Linked DNA regions of Homo sapiens: regions 1 and 3 are each linked to region 2. Evidence: promoter capture Hi-C in 16 types of primary human blood cells and fetal thymus (Javierre and others, 2016). All regions are on one chromosome and are shown on one strand. Each heading gives the region's core, a stretch centred on a gene start or on the middle of the fragment in contact. The rest is flanking DNA. Distances are from core to core; before and after follow the strand shown.

Region 1 (3,855 bases), core at 1,026-3,525, 3.2 Mb before region 2:
TGCCATGCCAATGTCGGGAAGTTACCCTATCGTCTAAAAAATGGAGAAACCCTCATTTCCAGGAACTGCCCACCCTTTTCCTGGAAAACTCATGAATAATCTACCCCTTGTTTAGCGTATAATCAGGAGATGACCATAAAAGTGGCCAGCCAGAAGCCCTCAGTGCTGCTCTGTCTATGGAGTAGCCATTCTTTTATTCCTTTACTTTCTTAATAAACTTGCTTTCACTTTACTGTATGGACTTACCCCAAATTCTTTCTTGTGTGAGGTCCAAGAACCCTCTCCTGGGGTCGGGATCGGGGCCCCTTTCTGGTAACACTTTGTGTTTTCTTTTGTTTTCTTTTCTTTTTTCTTTTTTTTTTGGGGGGGGGATAAGGTCTTACTCTATTGCCCAAACTGGAGTGCAATGGCTCTTGATCACTCACAGTTCACTGCAGCCTCAATCTCCTGGCTCAAGCTGTCCTCCCACCTCAGCCTCCCAAGTAGCTGGGACTACAGGTGCACACCACCACACCTGGCTAGTTAACAACAAAAAAAAGTGTTTTGTAGCGATGGAGTTTCATCCCATTGCTCAGGCTGGTCTCGAACTCCTGGGCTCAAGTGATCCCCCTGCTTCAGTTTCCCAAAGTGCTGGGATTACAAGAGTGAGCCACTGCACCTGGCCCCCATGCTGAGTACTTTGAACTAAAGGAGATTGGAAAGCCTGAGAAGCAAAGTCTCTCACTGAACCTCTGTCCTGCTGTCTCCTATCCCTGTTACTCACCCTAGGCTAGTCATATAAACCAGAACTCCTTTCCCCACAAAGTAAGCCATGAAACGAAGAAAGGTCACTCTCTGCCTTCTCATTTGAAGACTCTCATTCCAGAGAAGTCTGCTCTATACCTGGGTGTGGAAGGAATGCTACACAGAGAGGTCAAGACGAATCTGGACAGGCCTTGCTGGGTTTCCACACTCAGTCTATTACTATTAGTTCATTCTCTTTTTGTACAATCACATTTCTACATGGATGTCCACTCTGTTGAATCTAGGCATACAAATGGACAGCTTTCTCTGGGTCTTTACTTCTGAAGGCTCCTGTGTCACATAAGACTTCCATTAAATTAATTTGTTACACTTTTCTCTTGTTAACCTGTCTTTTGTTGTAGAAGTGTTGGCCATGACCCTTATGATGGGTGAGGAAAGGTATGGAGTGCAGTGGCATGATCATGGCTCACTGCAGCCTCAACCTCCAGGGCTCAAGTGAACCTCCCACTTCAGCCTCCTGAGTAGCTGGGACTACAGGTGTGCCGTAGAGACAGGGTCTCGCTATTTTACCCAGGCTGGTCTCAAACTCCTGGGCTCAAGTGAGCCTCCTACTTTGGCCTCCCAAAGTGCTGGGATTACAGGTATAAGCCACCCTGCCGGCCTTCTGATAGTTTTTAATTTACAGTTTACAGTGTATTTCACTTTAATACATTCCTTATCTAAGATTGCCTTTGAGGTTTAAAATGTTGGAAGTTAATACCTTACATTGTATGTGCCTCTGAAGGTATCTGTAAATGATGTCCCATGTTATTATTTTTGCATTCCCTTAGAGGCAACATTTTATATAACAGTTGTCCAAAGGCCTAAGGCAGAGGATGTAATACTGGGTACTCACGGTATATGACGACTTTCCCAAATGGGAAATGAGCATGGAGGCTCTGTTTTCAGGCAGTCAGTTCTATCCTCATTTTCCTTGAGTAGAAGCATCCCTAAAATTGGCCTGAAAATGTGTCCTTGGGTCAGGGTGTAATGTGGGCTCTTTTCCAGTCTCCTTTCTTCCAATGACCTCTTCCCTACTTTACAAAAGAAAGGCATAATTCTTCCTCATGCTAAATCTTAGTAAGGTGCAATACCCGGTTATGCAAAAACCTCCAGGACACCAAAGAAAGGCACAATTGACTGGTGAATAAGAATGGGGTAACACATCCTTTCACAAGTCAGGTGGTTTTCAGTTGCTTGCTTTCAACAAGTTGAAAGAGAACCTAATCAGAGTTGTCAGCTGACAGATCATTAAAAGTATTTTTTCTTTGTTAGATCTTTATGCGATTTTTGGGCATATAATGCGAAAGGCATTCAAAGAATTGTGTGGCATTACTATAACAAAACTCCATTCATTCTCATCTGCTTTTTTTATGCGAACAAGTTTTCTCAACACTTATATCCATGGAATTGAAAACTTGGAATAGAACTGATGCTGAACTATTTCTCAAAAAAATCCATCCACTGAAGGTCATAATGTATATTAGAAAAAAGTCCACCCAAGTTCATTTCTGCAAGATGCATTGCCAATAAAATTTTGCTTTTGTGTTTAGTACTTACAAACATTTGAAATAGATTTGTTTTGATCGGTTGAAATAAGAGCTTTATGATCACAGAAAATATAAAAAACAACCCAGATACTTCAATTTATGTTCACATTTTTATTACAAGTAAGACGATCAAAATAGTTCAAATATAAAATATATTACTAGGATAAAATTCTAGAGGAGATATGCAACGTCAATATGAGTTCCAGAAAACAATATTTGGAAATTGTATTTTCCAAACTGTATTTTAAAAAAATGGATATTAGTGGGTGTTAAATCCCTATGGTATTTAGAATCCATTGGCTATACAGTATTTAAACAATGCGACAGATGAAATATTTATAAGCCGGAAAAATGTAGCTGTCATTCTAAACTGTATAAGAACATACACAGCTTTACGAAATTGTTTTAGAAGGCTCATGAAGTAAAAAGTTTGAGGACCCTGAACCAAGATGTTTGCTCTGGGTTCAGGATGTCAACATCTCCAGGGGTATTCAAACATAGGGTGTATTAAAACCTGTCGCCCTGTGTTGCGCATAAAAATTTAGTACCTTACACCGTAGTGTTTTAATTTTTGCCCATTTTAAACCGCTCTCTTCGTAGACTGTAGGCTCGTTCTATTCCTGGCTCAGCTCCTGTACAGAGGGGACACTCCTCAAACACCCCCGGAATGAATGAGTTTATCGTGAGAACTCGGAAGGCTGCTAAAATCCCCGGCCAGCGTTGGAGTTTTCAGTCCGCGTGTCCCTGGGCTTCGAAGCCCGGCAGGGCGTGGGAAGGCCCCGAGGAAACGCTGAGCACTTGCAGGCGCCGGGGCGGGGGCGGGGGCGGGCACTGGGCAGCGGGGCGGGCGCCGGGCGGGGGCGGGGGCGCAGAACCCGCAGCCGGGGGAGGTGCTGCCTCGTGCCGCCGCGCAGGCGCGCAGCAGTCTCCGTGTGAGTGCGCGTAGTCGCGCGCCTGTCCCCGCGCGGGCTCCGTAGCGCGTGTGCAGGCTGACGCAGCTCGCGGGCCCTCCTCCTGCTCTGCAGCGGCGTCGGCGGAGTTTTGGGCGTTTGGGAGGGGGGCGAGGGAGAGAGAGTCGAGAGAGGGAGGCGGCGGTGGGGAGGAGGAGGAGGAGGAGGAGCAGGCGCCGCCATGGCCGCCGCTATCACCGACATGGCCGACCTGGAGGAGCTCTCCCGCCTGAGCCCTCTGCCCCCCGGCAGCCCGGGTTCGGCGGCGCGGGGCCGGGCTGAGCCCCCCGAGGAGGAGGAGGAAGAGGAGGAGGAGGAAGAGGAGGCGGAGGCCGAGGCGGTGGCGGCGCTGCTGCTGAACGGCGGCAGCGGTGGGGGCGGCGGAGGCGGCGGCGGAGGAGTGGGGGGCGGCGAGGCAGAGACGATGTCGGAGCCGAGCCCCGAGAGCGCCAGCCAGGCCGGGGAGGACGAAGACGAGGAGGAGGACGACGAGGAGGAGGAAGATGAGAGCAGCAGCAGCGGCGGGGGTGAGGAGGAGAGTAGCGCCGAGAGCCTGGTGGGCAGCAGCGGCG
Region 2 (4,067 bases), core at 1,037-3,536:
ATTAGAATTGAATCAGTAGATCAGGTTGATAAGAACTGATATTTCTTGCACATTTTTAAAGTTTTGCTTTTAACATTTAGGTTTCTAATCTTCCCCAAATTAATTTTTATGCATAATAAGAGGGAGGGATCAAAATTTTTTTCTCATACAAAAAGCAATTGTATCACTACGGTTCATTGATCAGTCTGGACTTTCTCACTAATTTTTAATGCTACTTTTGTTATATACAAAGTTCTCATATGTGTGTAGGTTTTGTTCTGGGACTTTATTATGTTCTAGTAGTTTATTTGCCCATACCTAAACCAATATATAATACATCCTGGTAGGGTTGGTCCTCCCAATATATTCCCTGATCTTACCTGTCCCTATCCTCCTCTCCCCAATTACAGCGCTTTTCTTGGACCTTAAGTTTTGATATGAATTTCAATGTCATTTTAACAAGTTCAGTAAAAAAACCCTTTTGAGATTTTAACTGGAATTGCATTATATGTACTGATTAGTTCAGGGAAAATTGAGGCCTTTACATTAATCTTTTCTCATTTATGAATATGGTTCATTTCTCCATTAATTTTATCCATGGATCCTGTACATTTTCGGTTACTTTTGTTCTCAGGTACCTAATAGTTTTTTTTTCTTTTCTTCTACTTGTTAATGGACTCTTATTTACCATTACAAACTAGTGCAGTTTGCAACATAATTTTCAATTAAATTGTTTTACAGTTACATAGTTTTAAAATTCTTAAAATGTCAACTGCTTAATAAAAAATACAATTTATACAAAAATACAAGAGATACTATCTGAAATGTGAAAGTAGTAGTATATTTATGATTTCTCCCCAAAGTGGAAGGAACACACACTCTAATGTTTCTTGTAGAAAATTATGCCTAAATCTGGCAGGGCGCGGTGGCTCACGCCTGTAATCCCAGCACTTTGCGAGGCCGAGGTGGGTGGATCACCTGAGGTCAGGAGTTCGAGACCAGCCTGGCCAACATGGTGAAACCCATCTCTACTAAAGATACAAAAATTTGCTGGGCGTGGTGGCACGCGCCGGTAATCCCAGCTACTCGAGAGGCTGAAGCAGGAGAATCCCTTAAACCCGGGAGGCGGAGGTTGCAGTGGGCCAAGATCGCGCCATTGCACTCCAGCCTGGGCGACAGAGTGAGGCTCCGTCTCAAAAACAAAACAAAAAAAAACAGAAACAAAAAACAAACAAAAAAACCACTAAATTTGAAAAATGTTAAATCAACTTCTTTGCTGTATTATAAAGCTCCATTTCCACCCCTCTTTTTAGTTTAGGAAGTTTACCGTTATCGGTGAAGTAATTATTTTGTTAATTACAAAGGTAAGTAGGTTCTTTCTGAACAATCAGGATGTAAACTTAATGCTAGTGAAGTAATTAAACATTTTGAATGTTAATTAAACTCAGTCCAGTTAAGGGTTTTATTTACTACTAACAAACGTATTCACCGTGTGCTAAGTGCTGCAGGGAATCCCAGCCCGTTTTCCTCCATCTAAAAGGAAAATTAGGAGGTCCCAATACTTTACTTGTAGATTTTCCAGTTTCTACCATTCCCTGTAAGGCACTGAGACGCAAGATTTCAAGGCCCACTCGGGGTACCCTGGCATGGACATCGAGTCGTTCTAGCGCTGAGCTTCAAAACTATTCCTTTCCTTCCCTTTCTTCTTCATACCAGACTCTAATCTGTTCTCCCTAGCTTCGAATTATTCACTGTATGGTCGAACATCTTACTCCACAAATAACCTCTGAAGTGTTGCAGTTGTCTTACCCAAATACCTGAACTCAGCTTGTCCCGAGTACTGCGATCCCGCGTACTGCTAATGGGAATATAGTTAACCCAACTAGTATGAGGTCCCCAGTACACAGCAGCTCCAAGATCAAGGCGACCGAGTAACACTGCTTGCCTAGACTCAGGCCAAGTTCGGAGAGTGATCCTGGGGTTATTTTAGAACGTGTCCCTTGCTTCCCAGAAAAATTCAGTCGTTAACTCAAGTCCAGATGCCCAATGACCATTCGGATAAGGTGAGCTAAAGCTTCAATGCCTTGAGGGGCTTGGCAGGGCTCGGGCTCATCCCGGAGAAGCAGCCCCGCTTTCCAGACTAGCAGTTCCCAGGGATGGGTGTGTGCTAATCGCAGGCCAACAAGCCCAGCGCGGTACAGAGGTCCCATTGTGACCGGAGGCGAGAAACCCCGCCTCGGCACCCTGACGCAGCGCAGGACCCGCCCCGCGCGTGACGCCAGCGTCAGGCCAGCCCCGGCATGCTCTGCGGCCGCCCGCGGTCCAGCTCCGACAACAGGAATTTTCTCCGAGAGCGGGCCGGGCTCAGTTCAGCTGCTGTCCAGACCCGGATCGGCAACAGTGCCGCCTCCAGACGTTCTCCTGCCGCTCGCCCGCCCGTCCCAGCGCCCCCAGCCCTCCCGCGAGGGCGCCCCGGGACGGAAGGATCCACCAGTCTGTCGGCGCCCGCCGTTCTCGTGGTCGCCGTCGCCGTCGTCGTGGTGGTAGTCTCCGCCGTCGCCTGGGCCATGGCCAATTACATCCACGTCCCTCCCGGCTCCCCGGAGGTGCCCAAGCTGAACGTCACCGTTCAGGATCAGGAGGAGCATCGCTGCCGGGAGGGGGCCCTGAGCCTCCTGCAACACCTGCGGCCTCACTGGGACCCCCAGGAGGTGACCCTGCAGGTAACGCCCACACCTCAGCTCTGGGTCTCTTATGCCCCTCACGCGGCTCTGGGGGTCCTCACCACAATCGCCTCTGTCCCACGATGACCGAGGAGGACCTAGGGCAACATCTCCTTAAGTCTATTGGGAAGTGACCCTGTATTTCCCCTCACACCTAGGAGGGTCACTCCCCCTTCCCGTCGCAGTTGCTCTTTGAGATTGACCTGAGGCACATTTTCTCTTTCTAGAAGCCGCTGCGTAAGTGACGGACCCATCCACGGGGGGAGATTCCTGCTGATAGTTGCCCCTCCTCCCACTCCCCAGTCCACGGTCACTGCAAAATGAACCTTTCCACTCCCCTTGCACGGGGTCCTCGTCTACCTCCTCCCCTCCCACCAGTAATGCAGTCATTAATCCTCTCTGATCTTTCCTTCCTCTCCCCTCCCCCTGCGATGTGCTTTCATTGATGCCTCACACTGCGTTTTGTCTTCCCAAACCCTAGCGTACTCAATTCCCAAAGTAATGACCACGACCATGCATCGCTAGGTCGGTTCTTAGGCAGCACCACACACATTGTTTTGTTTGAGTCGATATTTCTGAATTATTAAAGTCGTCTTACTGAAATTAATACCTGATACTAGAAGGAGCAGTGGCTTGTGACTGTTTCCTTTTCATGAGACACCGTGTTGATAGAGAAAAAATTGGGAGGAAAAAAATCCCTGAGACTCTAGGAGTTTTCTAATAAGTTGGAAGTTATGATTTCCACTACGTGATTTTTTTTGAATACTAATCTGTTTTTAGCTTTAGTTTCAGGAACTAGATACAAAAATAGATCTCTTTTTCTCCTTTTCCCTTGCAAACAAAAAAAAACAGTAATTTTCAAGATTGGGATATTTGGGATTTGTTCTAAATCTGAGCAATAATGTAAGAACATTCATTTGAATTAGCCAAATCATCTGCCTCGTTTTGATGACTAATTTATTCACCAATATTTGTTGATTTATTTGCTAAATTCTTCGCTAAACTAGCCAGCCACCCACACAAAGATGAATAAAACATGAGCAGTGCCTAGGGCCCAGAACAGTTCCTGACACTTGGGTTTTCATGTGTTAGTTTCAGTTCTTATTACCTAGAAGAGTTTTTAAGCAGATTATTTTAAAGGACCCGTATGTTTTGGAGAAGAAACTTGTTAGACAACAAATTTTGAAATTTAAGGGAGTATTTGTTAGCCGAGAATATAGGAAATAGTGAATCCAAAGTGATTTTTATGTCATTTAAAAAATATATTTCCTTTAAAGGAAATGTGTCTTCCAAATTGAAATTCAGTACTTGTTTAGTTTATCAATTTGTTTGTATTTTATTATATAAGACTCTAAAATTTATTAA
Region 3 (4,045 bases), core at 310-2,809, 4.3 Mb after region 2:
TGGTAGGGAACATGAATAATATGTTCAAAGAAATCTGTCCGACAAAGGACAGTTTAATGAGGTCATGACCAGAAAGCAAGGGTATCAATACACCATATTAGGCTGTCACTCTACCAGGCCCAGACAAAAATACCAGTGCATGCATTTTTGGTTTTGCTTTTAAAATGAACTTAAAATTGTCAGAGGGAAACATTTTGACATTTAATTGTATTTGATTCCCTTACATATACGAAACATAAGTGACAAAGACTCTTGAAATACAACTTTATGATCCTTGCTAATTGACATTAGTCACATATAAACCCCAAGCCAGCATTTTTGCACTTCCCTCCAAGAAAAACGTTTGAAGGGGGACTGGCGGGTAGGGGTGCGGAATTAACAGGAAAGAGGAGTGACAGCAAAAGAAAAGGCCAAAACAAAGATAAACATCTCCTAAGATAACCGCACATCAGGTCTTCGCCTTAGGATAAGGACCCCAACTTCACACTCTCCCCTTAGCTTTTGAAACATCACAGTAATTTACCAGGTAGAGCAGAAAAACTTAGTTGTTACCATCACACTGGTGTGTAGAAGGAAATTTAAAACTTTTAAAACTTTTTCTTATTAAAACAGAGCATACGGTACTCCCCTGCTTCGCTAACAAAATCTTATACTGAATAGACAATCCACATTCGAAAAGCACATGGCAAGCAAAGCCAAAGTGTTAAATCAAAACGAACTGATTTCTTACGATCCAGCTATTTTCACCTCTTGCTTTCAAGACGCATCTCCCCTTCATGCAAAACTCTCTTTGAGAAACCTTCTAGACCCACTTTGCTGGAGGGTGGGGGGTGGAAAATACAAGGTGAGTGGATAGGGAAGACCTCAGGATCGAGGTTCGCTTACTTTCGTGCCTGGTCCTGCAGTGAAAACGAACAGAGGCTATGGACCACAGCCTCTCTGGAAAAGGCTGCTGGCTGGGCGGGGAGAGTCAGCGCACAGTCGGGAGTGTCTGGTGCCACAGACAGGGGACTATGCTTTCCCCGATCATCTCCTAGCACACCGGTCCTTCCCAGGCTTCCTAAGAGCAGGAGCGCGCGTGCGCGTGCACACACACACACGCACTCGGGCTCGCGCGTGCGCACAGCGCTCTCCGATAGCCCGGCCAAGCCTCCCTTCCCCCTCGTAGGGCCAGGCGTCCCAGTCGCCGAACAGGAAGAGGGCGGGGCCAAGGAGGAAAAAAAAAGCCTCCACCCCTCGAGATTTTCCACCCGCTAATTTTCCCAGTCACCCATTGGGAAGCAGGATCTGGGCGACCTGAAAGCCTCCCCAACAGCGAAGTACCAACCACGGCCCCCTAAGCGTACGACCCACCCACCCGGTCTCCCCTTCTCTGTCTCTCCACCCAGGCCGGTTTCCCCTGGAAAAACTCGCGAGACTTTGCGAGAGGCCGAGCGAAAGCCTGGGAAGGGAGGAATAGGGAGGGACATAGAAGGGCCCCGCCCTGCCTTCTGGGGCAAAGCGGAGAGTGGTCGGTTCTGCCCCACAGTAACGCGAGGAAAGAAATCTCGCGAGGCTGGAGTTCTCCGGGAGCGCCGGTCGGAGGCGGTCGGCGGAGGTGTCTACCCCGCCGGTGATGGCGTTGAACGCCACTGGCTTCCCGGCCTTCCGTCCGCTGCCTCCGTCCGATTCTGCGTCTGCTTGCTGAGGAGGCGGATTAGGGGGGCGCGGAGTCTCTTCCCTTGAGTGCATAGGTCCCGGTTGGTAGAGGGTTTGAGTCCGCATCGCCACAGCTGAAGGCTGCGAGGGACTAAGAGCAGAGTAAGTGGACTAAATCCAGGGACGGGAGCAGGGGTGGGCGAGTCGGAGGCGTCCTTTGCCGGGGCAGTCCTTCGCCGGGGCCGGTGCCTTGCGCCTCTTGAACCACCGGCGCCCGGCCCTGTCCGCTTCCCGCCGCGGGCTCCCTGCTCCTGGGAGCCGGACTTCCTCTCCGCGCCCCCCGACTCCGAGCTCCTCTTAATGGAGATGCGGTGCGGAAAGTTCAATGAAAAGCCTTGGCTCTAACCCTGTGGACACACCTTCCGTATCTGCTTTCATCCTGCCTTACCCACCTGCGAGTTCACCACCGGACGGGGGACCCTTTCAGTCACCTGTTTGCAGCGTTTAATGAAGATAACTTGTTTCTTGAAACTGCTCTCCAAGGGGTATTACTCTTTTCTGGTTCTCTTCCTGCCTTTCTTCTCTATCCCATCTCTGATAATGGTTCCAGTATCTGTCCTGCTATCCGAACTAGAAAACCAGGAATCATCATTGGTTCTTCATTTCCACTTAACACTGCACTGTATTATTTTTTTTTTCGCCAGAATTAGTGCGGTTGCCCCCTCTGCCCCCCGCCCTCCACTGGTTTCCCTACTATAATCCTTCCATAGAGTTATTCTGAAATACATATTTATCTCTGTCCTTTCCTTAAACTTTTTAGTAACCGTATTGCTGACAGCATCAAATCCTAATTGTTAAGCACATCATCATTCAGGATCTTTTACAGTCTGCCCCAATCCATTTTACCTTTTAGTCCTGCTTTAATATCCTACCATACAAGACTATACTGGCTATTTCCCCAAACATGCCATGCGCTTTGACAGCTCTGTACTTTTGTACGTGCGGATGTCTAGGATGTTTACTGTTCCTCTATTTTACCACCTGTCAAAACCCAATTCATAAATCATTGTCTTCTCAGACTCCCCCAGGTGACATTGATACCGCTGTGCTCCCAACGCATTTGAAACTTTTCTTCTGCAGTATTTATTAGGTTGTATTATTTGTTTCTGTCTCTCCTGCCAATTTGAACCTGGGTCTGTCTGGAATCATGTCTTACTCATCTCTGAGAAAAAGTCCAGTACTTGGCACATAGCAAGCATTATTTATATATACATATGTATGTTTATTGAAATGGAATAGTTCTAAGGAATTCACCGTAAGAGTTCTTCATCCTTTAAAATCATAGAATTTTGGGCCAGAAGGAACTCTGTACATTAGCTTAAAGGTCCCGACCTATTTTGATTATGAGAAACCCTGTACTTCTAATACACATGCAATTGGACTTTTAGTAATTGTTGGTTGAAATTATGTATAATGACAGAAAACTACTATGCTTTTAAATGATTTTGTATTTTATTTTTACAGTATCTATTTATATTTGAGAAATGGAGCAGAAATGTTTTAGACTACAGACAGTGCTTGGAGTATGTGCATTCAGGCAACTCTTCTACTGACTCCTTAGCCTGTAGGTTAGAAATAACTGGTTTAGATTAGGTTAGTTCCTTCTTGAACTGTCACAACTCTTTGAACATATGTATGTGAAACTTATATTCAGCCACAATTCTAAGGGAACGTGTAATTTTAAAAAAATCCTCCAGTGTCATTACTTCCAAAATCTTTCTTCCAAGTTTAAAAATTAATTTTCTTCAGAAAGTGTCTTTATACAGTTCCAAACATGTATTCATTCCACTATTTTCAAGGACAGTGAAAATTTTCTTTGCTTTCACATACAGCGATGTGCCTTTATAAATGCTTATTTTTATATGTAATTTATATGCGTTCTTTCTTGCATTCATAAGATTATAAGTTTATATGAAAACCATAACTATACCTTTTGGTTTTTTTATTTCCATATGGGTCAGTTCATATTATGTACTAATTAATATTAGAGACACATACCTGAACATGAAAAAATTTAAACTAGATTGTTGACATTTAAAGACAGATCTGTGGTGTATCAGTAGCCACAATATTTCTGTGTAGATGTAGTGGTAGGAGTAGTGGATTTGCAGATAAGGGAAACAGAAGTGTCCAATCAGTAAACATTCATTGATCTTACAATTAATGTGATGCCTAATTAAAATGGTTGCTAGGCTTTTATTAATTACCTAGAAAATATTTGAAATTTTTTTCGTCTTTAATTTCTCTTACATTTCATTTATATTCCTATTTATTTTCTGAGGTTGGCTTGAAAATTTTGACTTGAATTTCCTTAAATTTTTCTTAACCAAAATCTAAAAGTAAACAG

The links. Contacts are between HindIII fragments. The CHiCAGO score rates a contact against its expected background, and 5 or more counts as called.
Region 1: a fragment that was not itself captured here is called in contact with the fragment with the promoter of ETNK1 in region 2 in 2 of 17 cell types (naive CD8 T cells and total CD8 T cells); the score reaches 13.6 in naive CD8 T cells.
Region 3: a contact is called between the fragment with the promoter of FGFR1OP2 here and the fragment with the promoter of ETNK1 in region 2, in 1 of 17 cell types (total B cells). The highest score is 5.1, in total B cells.

What each region holds. Positions count from the first base shown.
Region 1 is chr12:19,436,236-19,440,090 of GRCh38, forward strand. AEBP2 (AE binding protein 2) reads left to right here and starts at 3,257. Exons shown (of 8, transcript NM_153207.5): 1 at 3,257-3,855. The coding sequence starts at 3,465. RefSeq lists silencers at 3,125-3,374, 3,435-3,584, 3,595-3,694. The HindIII fragment of the contact is 5,437 bases long and covers 1-3,855 here.
Region 2 is chr12:22,622,885-22,626,951 of GRCh38, forward strand. It overlaps ETNK1 (ethanolamine kinase 1), which reads left to right and starts at 2,287. Exons shown (of 8, transcript NM_018638.5): 1 at 2,287-2,702. The coding sequence starts at 2,547. It overlaps ETNK1-DT (ETNK1 divergent transcript), which reads right to left and starts at 2,162. Exons shown (of 4, transcript NR_135030.1): 1 at 1,789-2,162. RefSeq lists enhancers at 1,932-2,001, 2,532-2,701, 2,721-3,410. The HindIII fragment of the contact is 2,136 bases long and covers 2,052-4,067 here.
Region 3 is chr12:26,936,911-26,940,955 of GRCh38, forward strand. FGFR1OP2 (FGFR1 oncogene partner 2) reads left to right here and starts at 1,560. Exons shown (of 7, transcript NM_015633.3): 1 at 1,560-1,800. INTS13 (integrator complex subunit 13) reads right to left here and starts at 1,071. Exons shown (of 17, transcript NM_018164.3): 1 at 886-1,071. RefSeq lists enhancers at 1,376-1,885, 1,614-1,663, 1,886-2,394 and a silencer at 1,924-1,993. The HindIII fragment of the contact is 20,390 bases long and covers 1-4,045 here.